3 separate regions of the Homo sapiens genome follow, and all the other regions are linked to region 3. The links are contacts of gene promoters, found by promoter capture Hi-C in blood cells and fetal thymus (Javierre and others, 2016). All regions are on one chromosome and are shown on one strand. Each heading gives the region's core, a stretch centred on a gene start or on the middle of the fragment in contact. The rest is flanking DNA. Distances are from core to core; before and after follow the strand shown. Region 1 has its middle 2.0 kb from the start of CCDC152. Region 2 overlaps GHR (growth hormone receptor). Region 3 holds the start of HMGCS1 (3-hydroxy-3-methylglutaryl-CoA synthase 1).

What was found. The method cuts DNA at HindIII sites, captures the fragments that hold promoters and counts their contacts. A CHiCAGO score of 5 or more calls a contact.
Region 1: a fragment that was not itself captured here is called in contact with the fragment with the promoter of HMGCS1 in region 3 in 2 of 17 cell types (non-activated CD4 T cells and naive CD8 T cells); the score reaches 7.5 in non-activated CD4 T cells.
Region 2: a fragment that was not itself captured here is called in contact with the fragment with the promoter of HMGCS1 in region 3 in 1 of 17 cell types (total B cells); the score reaches 6.0 in total B cells.

Annotation. Positions count from the first base shown.
Region 1 is chr5:42,752,963-42,756,768 of GRCh38, forward strand. No RefSeq gene overlaps it. Among named protein-coding and RNA genes, the nearest start is that of CCDC152, 2.0 kb to the right of the region's middle. The HindIII fragment of the contact is 564 bases long and covers 2,110-2,673 here.
Region 2 is chr5:42,616,126-42,619,806 of GRCh38, forward strand. The region is part of intron 2 of GHR (growth hormone receptor); the gene reads left to right. Among named protein-coding and RNA genes, the nearest start is that of CCDC152, 140 kb to the right of the region's middle. The HindIII fragment of the contact is 4,544 bases long and covers 1-3,681 here.
Region 3 is chr5:43,311,570-43,315,265 of GRCh38, forward strand. HMGCS1 (3-hydroxy-3-methylglutaryl-CoA synthase 1) reads right to left here and starts at 1,843. Exons shown (of 11, transcript NM_001098272.3): 1 at 1,787-1,843. RefSeq lists enhancers at 1,613-1,752, 2,003-2,232, 2,239-2,755, 2,756-3,270, 3,365-3,696. The HindIII fragment of the contact is 3,835 bases long and covers 1-2,559 here.

The DNA.
Region 1 (3,806 bases), core at 1,142-3,641, 560 kb before region 3:
TTGTGTTTCTTCGCACTTATTACAATTTTATGTATAGGTAATTTACTCAATGTATTACCTATTTCCCTTTTAAACTATAAGTCCTCTAAGGTCAGGGGCCAATCTGTTTTGTTTATTCCTAGTTTTCTCATAGACCTCAGGACATAGTTGGTGCTCAAGTATTTCTTGAATAAATAAATGTGTAATTACTGATAATCTTAAAAAGGCAAAGGAAAGAAATAAAAAGCTCTAAAAGCTTTCTACACAGAAGATCAATGCTTCTCAAACATTTATATGCACATGAATCACCTGGTAATGTTGTTAAAATGCAGACTTTGATTTAGCAGTTATGGGATAGAGTCTGAGACTGCATTTTTACAAGCCCGCAGGCGATGCCCATGTTGCTGGTGCAGAGACCACACTTTGAAAAGCAGGGGCCTAGATCATGATTCATTATGATTGCCATTTCTGATCCAATCTAGCCTTTTTCATAGAGATACTTCGAAAGTGTCTTAAAAAGCTCATTTCCACCTTTACTCTCAGGCTAATATTGAGGAAATTGCCTATTAAATTATCCAGTGCCTCCTATATGAATCTTAATGTGAAAAATTAAGAAGTTAGAGTTAGGGAACATGGTTCCTCCTGAGAAACTTGTATGTTTTCTCCTCTTTTACAAAAATAAATAAATAAACTAAGTAGTTAAGCCTGTATCCTTTTTTATTCCAACCATCAGTAAATTCAAAGCCAAATTTGTAGCAGAAATATAAAAACTTTGTTGACCTACAGGCCAGAGTATTTCTGTTTTATTTCTCTACTGCTCTTCAATTTCTAATTTATATTTCACCTTGTATAGGTGAAATATGTATGTAGCATTTTTAAATAAATATTCATGGAAATGAGAGCAAGCTGAAATTTCAGCAGTTGGTGAATTTGATTCAAAGACAAAAAGCATGGCCTAAACAGAGGTAAGAATATCGAGAGAGTTAAATAATAGGGCTGGAACAAAGGACTCCATAGATTAGCCAAACCACTTATAAACATTTGCTGTGATATGGGAGCAACACCATAATATTTTGTTGTTATAATATGCCGGTGATAGTAACTAAAATAATCAAGTGAGATTCCAATGCCAGAGCAATATTGCCAATAACATACACTAGATTTCAATCCTCTGCTAGTCTCTCCTTTGAGACTGTAAGCTCCAAGGCAAAAGGAGAGTCTCTTATTTGTCTTTGCTCTCCTTAGTGCCTAGACTTGCAGCAGCTGATGTTTTGTAAGTACTTAAATATTTTAGAATGAATTAATGAGTGAAGCTGTTTTCAACCTAAAAAAATCAATGTATCACTCATTTTAAGATCTTTATGTACATAAACCGGTAGCTTCTGATTTTTTTTCAGCTGCCCAGGTACATATGCATTTCTCTTCCAAATCAGGGTATTTTTAATGAATTCCAGTGTTACTTTCTTTGTTAGTATGACAAAATAATGTAGTTTGTTTCTCTATTTTGGTTTTCCAGGCAGTCTTAAAATATATATTAAATAAATCCTTGATCTATCAGAAAATAAATATTCTCTTTTTTCCCAACTTTTATTTTGGGCTTGGGGGGTACATGTGCAAGTTTGCTACATGAGTAAATTGCATGTTGCTGACATGTGGTGTATGAATGATCCCACATCCAAGTAGTAAGCAAAAATGAATATTTTCTGAGCAAATATTTGATGAATTCTGTTTCTCAGTTGGATGGTATCTGAAGAATAAGACTGTGAATACAACTGTGAAACACATTCACTTTTTAAAGATGAAATCATGACAAGTTCATTTAGTTTCTCATTGAAAGATGCACTCTAAACCTACTAGAATTCTTTGAAAAAAATGCTAACATCTATAAACTGGAAGATAAACTTGCAACCCATTCTAAACTAGAAAAATTAAGCTAAACTTTTCTGACTTATTCCTGATGTGTTGGTTCATTTCTATTTTCTCTATGGTAGGCTCTATGGAGAAATATATACATATACATATATATGTGTATATATATATACATATATGTGTGTTTGCATATATACATATATATATATATAATATTCCAACTTTCTTAGTCTCTACATCCCAAAATCATTAGATAGTCAAAGCTTCTGTATTTCAAATGTTGGAACATCCAGAAGATTTGGAAGTACAGATGAGGCAGGGGATCTAGGGAGCTCCCTCTCCACCTTACACATTCCAGTCACCACATATTTTCAAAGGACTCCTGAAATTTGCCTAGGATGGGCCTAGGTGGAACTTAATACATACATACATACATACATACATACATGCGCGTGTGTGTGTGTGTGTGTGTGTGTATATATATATATATATATATATATATAAAGAAAATAGAGTTTCTTCCCCCAAGGAGCCAATAATAAATACAGCAAAAGAGGTAATACATCAATTCAGTCTTAACAAATGCCACAGAAAGCTAGCATGTTCCATAGAGTAAGGAAAGGTAGATCACAACTGATTGATACGATCAGTGAATGACTCATGGAGAAGGTAGCATTTTAGCATTTAGGGTCTTAAAATGGGCTTGTTTCAAAAGTTATTATGACATGAGTTACATGGAACATTTTATATTTGCTAATTGGGTAGAACCCGCAATTCAGCAGGTCATTTTCAATATTTCTATGTGTTGCTACTAATGTTAGGGAAAGCTTATTTGAGCAGCAGAGTGAAGACTACAACCCCCATTTTCCACTTTAACCTAATTTTCTTGCCATTATGCCACACTACCTTTCAACTAGTAAAGTATGGGTTATCATATTACTGTTTATATTTTTTCACTTGCCAAATTTTGGAGTCTATCGAAAAATCACATTAACAAAAATAAACCTCCCATCTCCCACTCAGAAAAAAAAAAAAAAGCAGATGAGCAAAGTTGGCAGTGGATTCGCTTTCAAACTATTACTGAACAACATTCAAAAATTCTAATAATTAACATTTCTGAACACTTACTTTAAGCAAGGATCTCCATTAAGCACCTTATAAATGCATCACTTCATTTAATCATCACAACCGTCCTAAGAGGCAGGCTTCTTTTTTTTTTTTTTGACTGAGTCTTGCTGCTGCGGGTCTCGGCTGGAATGCAATGGTGCGATCTCCGCTCACTGCAACCTCCGCCTCCCGGGTTCCAGCAATTCTCCTGCCTCAGCCTCCCAAGTAGGTAAGATTACAGGAGCCCGCCACCACGCCTGGCTAATTTTTGTATTTTTAGTAGAGACGGGGTTTCACCATGTTGGCCAGGCTGGTCTCCAACTCCTGACCTCAGGTGATCCACCCCCCTCGGCCTCCCAAAGTGCTGGGATTACAGGCGTGAGCCACAGCGCCCGGCAGAGGCAGGCATTATAATTAATCTCTTATACAGATGAAGATGCTTAGGTGCATGAAATTAAGAACTTACCCACTATCACCCACGGAAAAAGAGAAGAGTTGGGGTTTGAATCCACGCAAGAGCCCACGCCCTTAATCATTAAGCTACCAAGATATAACTCTGTAGATGGGAAACCATATCTATTAACTGGCTCTGGAATTTTAAAAGGCAATTTTATAAGTTACAAAAATAGATATGGATAATTATTTATTCAATGGAGCTGACTCACAATTCAGAACACCCAATGTGATTTATTCTTTGGTTGGGGAAACAATTATTGATCCGGTGTTGATTCATGTTCTGGAAACCACATGAAAATACCTAAGCAGCCGCAGATGCTGAGCGGAGCTGGGCCAAGTTGGTAAGAACTGCTGGTGGTAGGAGCTCCAGCATAGCGCACAGGGCGGGCCCAGAG
Region 2 (3,681 bases), core at 783-3,282, 700 kb before region 3:
TGGGAAGCCACTAGAGAATTTTAGCCAGTGAGGTAGCATGATCTTACTTATGCCTTAAAAAGGTTAATTGTTTTGGTAGTTAATTGAAGGAAGGCAAAAGTGGAAGTAGGAAGTCTAGTTAGGAAACTATTTGATTGTTCGGGAAAAAGGTGCTGGATGCATGGGCTATAATAATAGCAAAGGAGATGGAGAGAAGTGAATGGATTGAGATGGAACTGAAAGAACTTGTTGATGGTTAAATGAGTTGGAAGGAGTTAGAGAAAGCAAAGTGACAAAGATGACTCAGAAGTGTTTGGCTTAAGTACCTGAGTGGATGGTGAAACAATTTTCAGACATAGAGAAGAATTTAGGAAGAACAGTTTTTTTCAGACATTGCTCGAGAGTTCTGTGTTAGGATTGAGATACCTATTAGATACCAACTGAAGATACTGAAGAGGCTGAGTAGAGTCTGAAGTTCAATGGAGAGGCTCAGACTAAGATAGAAATTTGGAACCATCAATGTGTAGATGATATTTAAAGCCATGAGACTCGATGAGATTCCCTTTGCAGGGGAAAAAAAAAAAAAAGCTAGAATATTGGAGGGAAGAGTTTTGTAACAGGACAATATTTATGGGTCGGGCAGAGGAAAAGAAGCCAGTAAAGGAGACCAAGAAAGAACAGTCGGTGAGCTAGAAGGGACACCAAGTGGCTCAGGCATCCTCAAAGCTAAGCAAAGAGCATATTTTTAAAAGACAGTAATGTACTGGGTCAAATGCCTCTGAGAAGTTAAGTAATATAAGAAATAAGAAGGGACTATTGAATTTGATATGAACAGGTTTAGTGGAATGGAAGGATTAGAAGTAAAACCAAAGTAGATTCAGAAGAGGAGAAATTAGGAAGTAGAGACAGCCATTCAGACAAGGACTTAAAAGATCCAGGAATGGAAAGGAAATTCCTGGGAGCGCAACCCCTAAGAAGCCAAAAATAGAGTATGCTTTCCATGTAGGTTTTTAATTCTTTTTTGGTGGTGTTCTTTAGAAAGAGAAATGTCTGTTGGGATTATTGTTTGAAATGGTGTTGGGGGCCCAACCATTTCTGGCTTCTATAGATCCCCTTTTTGTACATGCTCATTCCCTTAAAAAAAAAAAAGAAGAAGAAGACTAGATTTTCTAATTTAGGGCAAGGGGCTAATAGCAAACCAAACTCATTTGTAATCTAAATGGTCACATATTATTTTGGTTGCTCTTCAGTGGCACTAGCTGCTGCTAGGAAGTTCATTTTACACACACACACACACACACACACACACACACACACACACAGCATTTGCTGCAGATCCTAAACTTGAAGCCCTGGATCTTCCTTACATCATTTACCCAGAAGTATCTTTGTCAACCTTCTTAACTTACATCCACCAGAAAGTAGAACAAGGCAGAAGTTGTGTGGGAGTTCTGTTCCTCCCCATTTCCCCCCTCACCTGCTGGCGTCAGCACAATAAATACTGTGTTCAGAACTTGGCTAACTGCTTCTTTTCCCACATTCGATCAGGGAATACTTAAAGCCATACAGTGTCCTTGTTCTGCCAAAAAGCATATGGGGCAGGTTGCCCCTTCAGGCTGACACAAAGACACACTGTGCAAGACATCTATGGCCAGTGGAGTGGCCGTGTATGGGTTATCAATGAGACTTTTGACTTTTTTCTTTATGTCATATTGTCATCACATTAAATAGAATTCAAACAAGGAAACAAAATTTATATTCTAGACTTTTAAGGCATTGCCTGCCCTATAGCTATGAAACTTTTCTTTTTCATACCTGGTATAATTTTCCACTTTAAACAATGTTGTGTGATTTGATTACCGTTTTGACTCTCATTTAATTGTCCATTTTAAAAATTTTAACTGAAGTTAGATTTAGATTTAAAGTTCAATACCCATAAAGGATACTTCTCAATAGAGCCGAGAACTTCAGAAGGCACAACAAAAAAAGGGCAAAGTTCAAAAAACTAAGCATCAGGTAGCTACTTTTTACTGCCCAGGGACATGTCTAGGTAAACTGTCACCATATCCATCTACATTTGCTTGCTAGTAGAGCTTCCATTTTCTACTGCAAAATAGTTTCTGGAACCACTTCCATGTTGGCCAAAAGAGAGTGTCAACAATTCCTTTCCAAAATTGACCTTTAGAAAGTGAATCTAAAATGTTTGATTCAAGTATGTGAGGGGAGCTGCATCAAAGTTTTCATTTTTACTACATACAAAAGTGACAGATAAATCCGTAAAATGTATGCATTTTTCTGCTAAGACTGCTAATTAATTTAAAAAGAGATTGTTAGAATAAAAGGTCAGAGAGTAAACATATTACAGATATTTATTGAGAGCCTGCTGTGTGCAGAGTTGGAAAAAATAAAATGAGGTTGCTCCTTTCAACAGACTTACAATCTAATTGAGGGAGCGACAGCATAAATGTATGCAAAGCAAATAATGCAAGATACAGCATAAGACATAATTAACTATCAGATGAGTGACATATATAATAAATACCATTAATTCACAGGCAATCGTAATCAGAAGCACTTAACTTACTATGTGCCAGGCATTCTGCTCAGTACTTCACATACATTATTTCATTTTTTTGAAATATTATTTCTACTTTATAGATGGGAATTGGCTCTGATCTTCCCCCTATTCTGGAGAAAGCAAGGATAATGGTGTAAGGTAGACAAAGACCCAAGCAGACATGTTGGTCTGGGGCAAAGGTCCATTTAAGGGAATGGAGAGAAATGAACCCTGGGGCCAGCATTAGTCTGTTTACAACCATATCCCAGTGCCTAGTATAGTGCCTTGCACATAATAAGTGCTCAATAATATGTCTTGAAAAAACAAATGGCCCTCTGGTCTGTGCCTGTAATCCAGATCAAGTACCATGGAATAAAGTTAATTAGTGAATTAAAGCCACATACCACATAGCTTAAGGACCCATCCCCAAGACCTCCCAATTCCCAACTATGACAATAAAGGATTGCAGTGGAAAAGATACATCATAAGGGGAATAGCAATAGCAATTCCAGCTCACTGGGGTCTATTTCATGGAATCTGACATGGTGAACAGTTCATAAGTTTATTTCCAGGCTGCAAGACCCTGCAACATCTGGCCTCTTGCACCTCCACAACCTCAAATCCTTCTATTCTTCTCTCACTCTCTCTACTCCTGCCACACATACCTCCCTTCTACTCCTCAAACCCATTTCAGGGCCTATATTCTTGCTTCATATTGCCTGGAATGTTCTTCCACAAAACATCTGTGTGGCTCATTACCATACCTTCAGATCTATAACAGCCACTCTCCCCACATCTTCCCAGCTGCCTGACATTATAATACACATCTATTTCCTTATGTGTTCATCCCCGTACACACTAGAACATGGGCCCAGGAAGGCAGAATTCCATCTGCTGTTTTTGCCATTGAATGCCCAGCAACTAGGACAGTGCCTGGCACATTGTAAGTACTCACACACAGCAACTCTAACTCAGGATTACTTTTTCTAGCTCTGAAATACCTACTTCCAAGAGAACGAAATTTATTCAAGAAATGTTGGATGGAAATTGAAGAGTGAGCTTGGAAACGAGACACAGAGTGGCAGGAGCCCAGACCAACCTGTTTATGAAAGATGCCTTTGCCCATAGAGGGAAAAATACACCTT
Region 3 (3,696 bases), core at 593-3,092:
TATGGAAGATCCAACCAGGTTTTAAATGATTCTAGAGGACACAGGAAACTGATGTTACAACAATATCGGGTTTTTGCGTTTATTTCTTCTGAGAAAAGCTATCTAAAATCTAAGTCAAAATCTCAAAATCAATCCACAGTTAAAAGAAACAAGATGTAAAAGCAATCTGGAGGGATATTTAAGATGAAAAACAAAATTAAAACAAGGCCCAAATGATGTGGCCTATGGCTCCAAACATAAAATATCCTTTTACACTCCCTCCCCACAGCGTAAGTCAGACCTTCTGAGTGCTGGGGTTACTGATGATTATACTAGAATTGAGCTGAACTAAAGTAGAACCGAATAAAGGGCAAACTTACAAACTTAGGTGAGAAATATCTACAAAGGTAGACACAAAGAAAGCCTTTCTCTCTTCCCATAAGGTATGCTATCCCTGCCCCCTTCTTCACACAAAAATAACTGCAATTTTAAAATAAAGTTTAAAGAACACAAGCTGCTTAGGTGTCTCAAGTGCAAAGAACTACTGACACGGATAATGTTAACGACTTTCAACTGCCTCTCATCTAATAGTATCTGTGCAATAAAGTCCAAAACACATCTCAGAAGGAAAAATCTGTTAACTCTAGGAGCACTTCCATTTGTCTTAATTTTGTTGTTTATCTTGTCATTGTTTTTCATATTCATGCCTAAAACAGAGCAAATGTTAGTTAGCAGCAACCAGAACACATCATCCTACTGCAGCAGGTGGCAAGAGCATCCTCGGGAAGGTGGGGAGCTGCAGCAGAGGTGAGCAGTGAAAGCAGCTACTGATGCCTTAAGGCTAAGGCCATAGGGACAAGCATGACAAACAGGCACAACCTCACATTATTTGTTCCCCAAATCCCTCCTCCAGAGTGGATCAGAATAATCGTTTCTCTACCACTGGTCAAGGCCAGACGTGGGTTTTCAAAGACTCCATATACTTGCTTTGAAATATCCTTAGCTTAATCCAAAACCTATTTGTGGGAGGACTCTGTGAGTGCCTGCCCATTACACTGTATCACCTAAAGCTGGTCCCGAAGGTATTAGTAGGAGAGAGATGTGGGATTTCAGAACACCAAGGAAGCCTATTTTTTAAAACGTAGACAAAAAAAAATATGGAGGCAGGAAGGCGGGAGGCAGTGATCTATGAGATTTGAAGCAAGTACAGACTGAGCCCCAGTACTTAGCCAGGTCTAAATCACGGTTGTGAACGCTTTCTTGCACCTGAGCTGAGGAAGAAAAGTAATGCTACCCACTTCCCTTCTTTCCATCAACTCTATATGTGGCAGCAGGACACACCCCCTGCGAACCTACCAGCCTCCGTCTAAAGAGGATCTTGCCCATCCTTTGGCGTCCACCCTTAACCAACGCTCTGGAAACGCCTTGGTAGCCCAACTGTCTTCTCTCCCCCTCCTGACACCCCCCACTCACCTCTAGGCGGTCACAGCTGCCTCTCTGGCACCTCCAACTCCTCTGTCGTTAGAATACCTAGACCTCAACGCCCTCTCGCGTTCTCCCCTCCGCGACTCGCCTGTGTTCTCGGATCTTCTCAGATCCGCTACGGTCGGCCTCAGGTCCCTCACGAGGGAACCCCCGCCCGGCCCCGCTCACGGTGCCCCATCCTCCCGGGCAAAGTCCACGCCTACGTCCTGACCCAGAGCCCCAGCTCCTTCGGGCCTAGTCAAGGACACCGCCTCTGTCTGGCCCACACCCCGCCCGCGGCACCTCCGCAGCCCAGTTCTACTCCCCAGCGCGGGACACTCACCAAGCGTGACCGAGCGGCAGCAGAGGAAAGGGAGTGAGCCACGAAAGGACAGTCCGCGGCGCCTCCCCTTCGCCACCAGCTTTATAGCCGCCAACCCACCCGACTCCGGCACCGCCGAGAGTCGCTGGGAGGCGGGACGGTGGCTCCCACAGCCAATCGCGGCCGGTAGAGTTGCCCGGCAGCGCCCGCCCCCCAGTCCGGCTTCTACCAATCAAAAGGAAACTAGAGGCGATGACTCGCTAGGATTTTCCCTCGTGGCTGGAAGGGCGGGGAGAAGAGGCGGGGACAAAGTCTCAGGGCCGAGGAAGTGGTGTGAGAGACTGACGTGAGGTGGCACGAGAGCCCAGTTGCCAATGACGGAGCTGCGAGATACGGCGAGAGCCAACGGGAGCGGAGTGAGAGGTTCTCCGACCAATTGGGACTAAGTGAGAGGAGATGCGGGCCAATGGGTACTCCGCGTCCCACCGCTGGAGAGATGGTCAAATGTGGGAGGCGAGGTGGTCCCAGCTTGGGAGTCTGTCAGGTTGCCTAGCAACCAGAACTAGGCTTCACCTGAAAGATTTCTGAAATACTGTACTTGATTTGAATTCAGTCTTAACGTTTTCTAGCAAAGTGTGCGTAGATTGCAAATTGGAGCAGAATACTTCACCCAGAACTTGTATATGTGTAAATAGTCTAAATACCCGATTTGTAAATACTCAAATATTGTCTCCTTTATTCAAAACTACCTTGACTTAAAGAAAACAGAACAAACAAAAGTGCTCTTGAGACAAAGCTTTCTAACTAAACCTAAAACAAAATGGTTTCAGGATTAGGCATCCGTGGGGAGGGTGCAGAGCCTTGCCTGTGAAGGGAAGTTGATACTGAATTCAAGGATTTTTGCCAGGCCATGCACTCTGAGGAAAGGGACTCCATTTGGCCTGTTGCCCACTGTATCTTCTAAGCTTCATATGTGGTACCTGCCAAGTAAAAGGCTGTGGAAAGGCCACGTAATTGTCGGCATAGTAAATCCATCGGATACGGACTGCCTAACTCCCCCAGCAAATAGAGAGGAGCAATTCAAGCTAGAGGAATTCACTGAAACACTATTTGGGGGAATCCAAAGGAGGACACTTGTGGCTTTGCAATAAACTCTGCCTCTATCTGGTCAGAGAGAGAAGCCATAATACTTAGCTTTGGTGGGGGACCATGAGTGAGGTTCGGAGTTGTTTGTATCTCTCCCCATCTCAATTTAATTAACAGGAATGCTATTGATAAGGGGTCATTGGTAATTCTGTGATTCACACAATTATTGTTATGGGAGATTCTTTTAACCACTATAGATGCTAACCTAGTAAGACACATTCTCAGCAGCAAAGTGGCAAAATATATTGGAAATGGAACCACTGTGAAGTGGTGGCATAAATGACTTGGGGGAAGAGGACCACTCAGTAATGATTTCCATTCCACAGTATTGCCCATGACTCACTTCATATGTATGTAAAGTAACTAGATAGTAAACAGAGAGAGAGACATTGCCTGATTATGATCAACAGCAATTTGGGGTGGGGTAGGAGATTAAAATTCTTGGCATATTGGAATATGCTGAAAGGCAGTAAGGACAAACACAAGAAAGAAGATACAGTTTTGTCGTTAGGAATCGCAAATAATTCCAACTCCAGGAGTACATAATGGGAAATGATTAGCCAGACGGTCATGAGAATGACCATCTTACACAACCGGAAATTTCTACAAGGAACAGACCGTCTTTTTGATCACGTTAATCTTCAATTAAGCAAAGTGAGCATGATTATTGATTACTGGGAAGCCAAGCAATGGAGAACAAAAAGGGTTAGTAATTAGATACAGAAGATCTTGTTATAAATAAAGTTTCCATGCTGCAAAAGAAATAGCAGTCGAATATAAAATTT